Linked DNA regions of Homo sapiens: region 1 is linked to region 2. The links are contacts of gene promoters, found by promoter capture Hi-C in human tissues and cell types (Jung and others, 2019). All regions are on one chromosome and are shown on one strand. Each heading gives the region's core, a stretch centred on a gene start or on the middle of the fragment in contact. The rest is flanking DNA. Distances are from core to core; before and after follow the strand shown. Region 1 has its middle 12 kb from the start of SPAAR. Region 2 holds the start of OR2S2 (olfactory receptor family 2 subfamily S member 2).

Region 1 (3,386 bases), core at 93-2,592, 36 kb after region 2:
CAAGTAGACCCCTGTGCACAGGGTCAGACATAAAGTCAAATGATCACCGATGCAGCTCTGGTGCGGCCTCTCTGAAAAATCACCAAACTTAACACCAAATCCTAAGGACTCCATACCTCAAACCCCTTAAAATGAGATCAATGAAAATGAGCGGTGGCCAAAATTGGGACCCAGGAGAATGTATCCAGTAGGATCACGATCAGTCAAGCAAATAGGTTTTACTTGGGTTTCCTGGATTTGTGTTGTGTTTTGTTTTGCTTTGTTTGAGATGGAGTCTCCCTCTGTTGCCCAGGCTGGAGTGCAGTGGCACAATCTCGGCTCACTGCAACCTCCATCTCCCGGGTTCAAGTGATTCTCCTGCCTCAGCCTCCCGAGTAGCTGGGACTACAGGCGCGCACCACCACGCCCAGCTAATTTTTATATTTTTAGTACAGATGGGGTTTCACCATGCTGGCCAGGATGGTCTTGATCTCTTGACCTCATGATCCACCTGCCTCAGCCTCCCAAAGTGCTGGGAATACAGGCACGAGCCACCGTGCCCGGCCAGATTTGTGTTTTTATGCAGGAATTCCTTCCCAGCATTTCTCGGAAATACTGTTTTTCCAAATGCCAATTCCTGAGAAAAAGAAGTTAAGACATCTAGGAACCTGGTAAGAGTGTTTTTGTGTGAGAATTAAAGCTTAGCAATCAACATGTTGAACTAGATGTGACTAGTTCAAAGGAATCCACTGACACCAAATCAAAAGCGAGAGTAGAAAATACTGAGGCACCCATAGGAAAGTTAAGTTCTGAATGGAACTGGGGAGTAGAGGAGAGAAAAGGCCATCATCTAATCAGTCTTCCGACTGCTGTTGCCAGGGTAGAGGTGGTGGTGGGCTAGCGCTGGCTCAAGAAGAGCCAGTTGTATGCTGCTCTTCCCAGCTCTCAGTGACATCCCCTCGGTAGCTGGGCATTGACCATTGTGGGAACATTTATGCCTCCCCTCAGAATTTGGCAAACCCTACATATAAGGGTTTTTTTTTTTTTCTCCAGGAGAGTCAGTTTACCAGCACACACTGGTTATAAGTGTGTGTTTGTGACCTGGTCTGCTTCTAATGGTAAGTCATTTTTGCAAATAAAACAAATATTGGTAAGTTTGTACACATAGGATACTTATACAAGTCCTATGAGCAGTGTCGGAAAAAAATAACAAATTTTGAAAGCAAAATAAGTCTTGAAACTGGCAATTCCAACAAGTGATTCTATGAACCTTGTTAGTGAGTCTGAATGTTAGTTATTTGAACACTTCCCAGTAATGATTGCTGGCATTTCCACGTGTTGAATATTCATTATAGGCTACAGTTCTTTGTAAATACTTTAACAGAAGAGATGCAAAAAGAAGACGTGATTGCTGTTATAGAACACTCCAGAAGGAAATCAGAAATTGCTCTAAAATCTGAATTAGCAAGAGCAATATTGATCTCAATGGCAAAATCAAGACCAGAGTAAGCAGACCAAAAAGTAAAAATAAAAATAAAGCATCATTTAAAAAGGAAATGAGCTTCTATAAAACAACATGTACCCTAATGGCTAACCTGAAGATGTTAGGGGCACACTCAACCAACATCAATGAAAAATGAAAAAACAAAAAAGTTTCCTACATCTAGAATATTTGTCACAAAACAAAGATCAAAACTATCAGATAGAGCAATTAAAGCTTTGTGTTTTAAAAGTTCATTTTAAAAATAACTTTTAAAATTAAATGTTTGTGCTATTATTTTTCCATTTTTAAGTGATTTTTATCTGGCATTTATTTTGCAATAATGTTCCCTCCTTTTTAATGTTTTCTATATCCAGTGCCTATATCAGGTGGAGATAATTTTTATGTTATTGAAATAATCTTGTCACAACATATTGGTTCATAATAATAATAAACCTTAAGGAAAAAGTCTGGAACTTTTAGCATCAATTTGTCACTGACAATTATTAACTGTTTATTATTCTGGTCATTCATTATTATTTAAAAGTATGTGAATATAATGTTATAGAAAATATGAGCCAGGCGCAGTGACTCACACCTGTCATCCCAACACTTTGAAAGGCTGAAGCAGGAAGATAGCTTGAGGCCAGGAGTTCAAAACCAGCCTGGTCACATAGTAAGACTCTGTCTCTAGAAAAGAAGAAAACAAAATAGCCAGGAGCACCCTAATGGCTAACATGAAGATGTTAGGGGCACACTCTATAGGCATGTACCTATAGTCTCAGCTACTCGGGAGGCTGAGGAAGGAGGGTCACTTGAGCTCAGGAGTTCGAGGCTGCAGTGAGCTATGATCGTACCACTGTACTCCAGCCTGGGTGACAGAGTAAGATCCTGTCTCCAAAAAAAAAAAAATTTAATGTATAATTTCAGGAATGCTCATGAATTCCCAGAAATTTCAATTTCTCATTCCTGAATACTGAACAGAAGTATTCGCGGGGAATTTGGAAACATTATTCTGGAGCTTTCAAACCTTTTAAAGCAGCAGACCCCTTTTTATCAAGCAAAATCTACCTGGGAAACAGAAGATATAAAAGAGGCAAAAATGAGGCTCTGGCTGAAGGAGAGGGGATAATATGGTCCTGTGCTGAACTTTGTGACCAATTTGTTGAGTGACTTGGAGTGGGGCCTGTCACTTTTGTGTCTCTAAGTCTTGGTTCCCTCATCCGTAAACTGCGGTTAATACAGCCTGCTTTACTGGGCCCCAAGGCTTGTTATGGGAGACAACTGAGAGATGCCTGGGAAAGAGCTTTGTAAACTTAGGACACCTTGAAGGCCATTATGTGCCAGACAGATGTCAATGTCGCTATTCCGAGGCTCTGCACTGACCTCAGAGGGTTTCCAGCCTGAGGAGAGGGGACGTCCACACACTGGATACAACCCTCGTCATAGGAGCCAGATGAGCAGAGCTGGGACTGGAGCCCTGAACTCCAGTGCCTCCTCCCGGCTGCTCTCCTGGGACCATCTCTCTGCCAGTGTTTGTCTCTTTTATGGGCTGGGGCTACAGGGTGCAAAGAACACCTTGGGTTTAAAGTGCAGCCATTCTGTAAGTAGCCAGGATCAGGCTGTAAAACAGAAAATTTTATCCCTCACATAAAAATTATGGATTACGAAAAGGGGAGTGTGAGTTTTGAGGAAGTTCAAAGTTCACTGAAATGGAGGCCAGAAAGTTATATTTTAGTCTGGAAGTGCCATAAAATGTAGAGGAATATGTCAGTTCCCCTTTCAGAACTTCAGCTCTCACCTCTGTAGAAGCCAGGAGGGCTTGAATGACTCCACTTTTCCACTCAGAAGATCCACAGTGTCTCATTCCCCAGATGAGCTCACACAGAAAAAGAACTCAAGTTGGTCCATCTGTTTCCTGAGTGGC
Region 2 (3,661 bases), core at 777-3,276:
CAACCAGGAACACCCTTCTGTGCTGTATGAAGGGATGGGAAGAGGGGAATAGGATTGCACAGGAAATACCTTGAGACCCATGGTTGTGTAATGGGGGAAGCTTCTCCTGGGTTAGACCAATCGTTCTCTTCTGGGTATAATTTTGCACCGTCCCCCCCGCCAACCCCCCCCCCCCCGCCCCAACACACACACCTTTCCCCTGGAAGCATGTGGCAGCGTCTGGAAACATTTTGATTGTTACAACTCAGGGTAGAAGGTGCTATTGGCAACTGATTGGTGGAGGTCAGAGACTCTGCTAAACATCCTACAATGCACAGGACAGCCCTCACACCAAAGGGTTATCCAGCACAAAATGTCAATCGTAAAGAATTTGAGAAACCCTGAGTTCCATTTAGGGTGGGAGGTGCACTGCCTGACAACACATCTGACATAAACCCTCCCCCATGACTGAAGAGAGAGTGTTGGACAGACAGTGAGACTGGCCAGAGAATACACAGAGCTAATTGAGATCATAACAGTGTGTACAAGTTTGACTTTGTCCTTTTAATTTATCATTATGCTATAGCAATATTAGCACAGAGAAAATTATAAATAGGACTATAAGATCTGTCTAATATTGGAGGGACAGAATCTTTTGCAAAGCTGTGCACCAAAAGAGAAAAGCAGCTGTTTCGTGAAAGAACTCAGGACTAGGTCTTGGAATCCAACTCCAGCTCTGCCATTCAACCCCAAGGAGCAAATTTATCTTCTGAGCTCCAGTTACTTCACCTGTAAAACCTGAATGATAATATCTTCTCCATGAGCTGTTTCAAGAAATATGGCACAGCTTATATTCCTTAATATTAGTGAGAATCCCTAATATTCTCACTAATATTAATATTAACCACTCATCTTCCATCATCCACCCACTCTTATACACACTCATAGAGCCACTGTCATTAAGAAGGAGCTATCAAAATATTATCTATGAGTACTTTGAATTTAGAGTCAGGGAAATTGCAAGTAAGAGACTAGATATCCTCTATACAAAGGCATATAAGTCTTCCTATAAGCCAGCTGCTTGCATAGAACTCAAGAATGGAGTCAGAGAGTCAGAAGATAATGCAAGAATAAAATGCAAACATAAAAGGACAAAGAAAAAACATTCTTAGTCATTCACGGTTAGGAATTTCACAGACATCCTAATGAGATGGGATCAGAAGTTAATGCCATATACTCTACTATCGATAACTATAGTTAGAGTGTGGTTATTAATATTGCATTAACTAACTGGTAAGCTACACAGTGTTGTCTCATGGTGTGAGTTCAGTCACTCCAACAAATCCATTTGTTGGCTTCATAAATTTCCCAGCTATAGGACCTCCCCATATATTGCAATAAATCCATATTTCAAATAGGCAGATCTATTCCTGTCAATGCTCAAGCCTGTGTCACTAGACTGAAGAAGTAATGCTCTTTATGGCTGAATATTAACTAGGCTTGTTTCTGTGTGAATATGGTTGAACAATTTTGCGCAATTTCCTCCCCACGTGTAATCAAAGTTTAAAGAAACTTAATCACTTGCTAGGTCCAAGAATTGCATCTTCTTGGGAATTTTCCTCTCTGAGAATCTAAGAAAGCCCAGATCAAATGAAATTGCTGTGGATTTGCATTAAAGAGAAATAATTCATAGCATTTCCTAGCACTTAATCACAATGAAGAGGAAAAGCCCTCCTTGGGCCAGGGATATGCTCTGCTGGGTTCAAGTCTTGTCTCTGTCACCAACTTGCTCAGAAGATTTGGACAGGTCACTTCTCCTCCCCAGGCCTCTATCACCTTTGTGGACACTGAGAGGGTGCAGCAACTTCAGAAAAATCCCTCATGCACAACCGGACATTTGAGGCCCTCACCCACTACCTGTCCAGCTCTGACCTTCTGTCTTCTAAGACACCCCCTACTGTCTCTTTCCGTCATTTTTCTCTTGCACAGATATGTTCTTCTATTATGCAATGGGAACTTGACCACATATTAGATGCCTAGGACTCTTCCCAAAAAGCCTGATGCGCTGCTCAGTACTTTGCTGATGGCAGAGGGGATATCACATGGAAAAAGCCAATGAGACCTCCCCTGTGATGGGGTTCGTTCTCCTGAGGCTCTCTGCCCACCCAGAGCTGGAAAAGACATTCTTCGTGCTCATCCTGCTGATGTACCTCGTGATCCTGCTGGGCAATGGGGTCCTCATCCTGGTGACCATCCTTGACTCCCGCCTGCACACGCCCATGTACTTCTTCCTAGGGAACCTCTCCTTCCTGGACATCTGCTTCACTACCTCCTCAGTCCCACTGGTCCTGGACAGCTTTTTGACTCCCCAGGAAACCATCTCCTTCTCAGCCTGTGCTGTGCAGATGGCACTCTCCTTTGCCATGGCAGGAACAGAGTGCTTGCTCCTGAGCATGATGGCATTTGATCGCTATGTGGCCATCTGCAACCCCCTTAGGTACTCCGTGATCATGAGCAAGGCTGCCTACATGCCCATGGCTGCCAGCTCCTGGGCTATTGGTGGTGCTGCTTCCGTGGTACACACATCCTTGGCAATTCAGCTGCCCTTCTGTGGAGACAATGTCATCAACCACTTCACCTGTGAGATTCTGGCTGTTCTAAAGTTGGCCTGTGCTGACATTTCCATCAATGTGATCAGCATGGAGGTGACGAATGTGATCTTCCTAGGAGTCCCGGTTCTGTTCATCTCTTTCTCCTATGTCTTCATCATCACCACCATCCTGAGGATCCCCTCAGCTGAGGGGAGGAAAAAGGTCTTCTCCACCTGCTCTGCCCACCTCACCGTGGTGATCGTCTTCTACGGGACCTTATTCTTCATGTATGGGAAGCCTAAGTCTAAGGACTCCATGGGAGCAGACAAAGAGGATCTTTCAGACAAACTCATCCCCCTTTTCTATGGGGTGGTGACCCCGATGCTCAACCCCATCATCTATAGCCTGAGGAACAAGGATGTGAAGGCTGCTGTGAGGAGACTGCTGAGACCAAAAGGCTTCACTCAGTGATGGTGGAAGGGTCCTCTGTGATTGTCACCCACATGGAAGTAAGGAATCACAATCACATCAGCTGCCATTCAAAAGCCAAGTCATGTGACCTATAATGGTTTCTCACTCTAAGTCCATTTGCAGGAGATATTAAACTTTTCAGACGATATCTCCTGAGTTTTAGTCCTATGTCTGACAGCTTCAACAGACACCAGACTCAATAAATAATCAACTGTGATGAAGGCATTCTGAACATACGGTAAAACCACACGAGACAGCAGCCATGAAAGCATGACGCATGGCCCTTAGAGTGTCTCAGCTCTAGAGTTAGAACAGGGACGTGAGAATGTTCTCACAGCAACTTACCAGCCCTACTGGATTCACCAGGGAAATCAGAGAAATAAGGAGGGAGTGGAAACTTTTACTGAGGCTTCAGTTTATTACACTCAGTTTGCCTGAATGGCTAAGAAAAGGTAAGTTCTTCACTTAGGGAGCTTTTAGTTGTGAATAATCTATTTTGATGACTGAATATCTTTTTAGCTATGAGAAAATTTAGGCTATTTTTTCCTGATGCACTGCAGATCATTGAACACCACCTAGTAAATTAAATAAAATTCAAGGAGTAATGAGTTCAAATTTGA

Evidence for each region. The method cuts DNA at HindIII sites, captures the fragments that hold promoters and counts their contacts. A contact is called where the count stands out against the background at its distance.
Region 1: a contact is called between a fragment that was not itself captured here and the fragment with the promoter of OR2S2 in region 2, in 3 of the 25 tissues and cell types used here (aorta, lymphoblastoid cells and spleen).

What each region holds. Positions count from the first base shown.
Region 1 is chr9:35,920,087-35,923,472 of GRCh38, reverse strand. No RefSeq gene overlaps it. Among named protein-coding and RNA genes, the nearest start is that of SPAAR, 12 kb to the right of the region's middle. RefSeq lists an enhancer at 1-202. The HindIII fragment of the contact is 3,057 bases long and covers 1-2,870 here.
Region 2 is chr9:35,956,519-35,960,179 of GRCh38, reverse strand. It overlaps OR2S2 (olfactory receptor family 2 subfamily S member 2), which reads left to right and starts at 2,026. Exons shown (of 1, transcript NM_019897.2): 1 at 2,026-3,072. The coding sequence starts at 2,082. The coding sequence ends at 3,041. The HindIII fragment of the contact is 4,346 bases long and covers 1-3,661 here.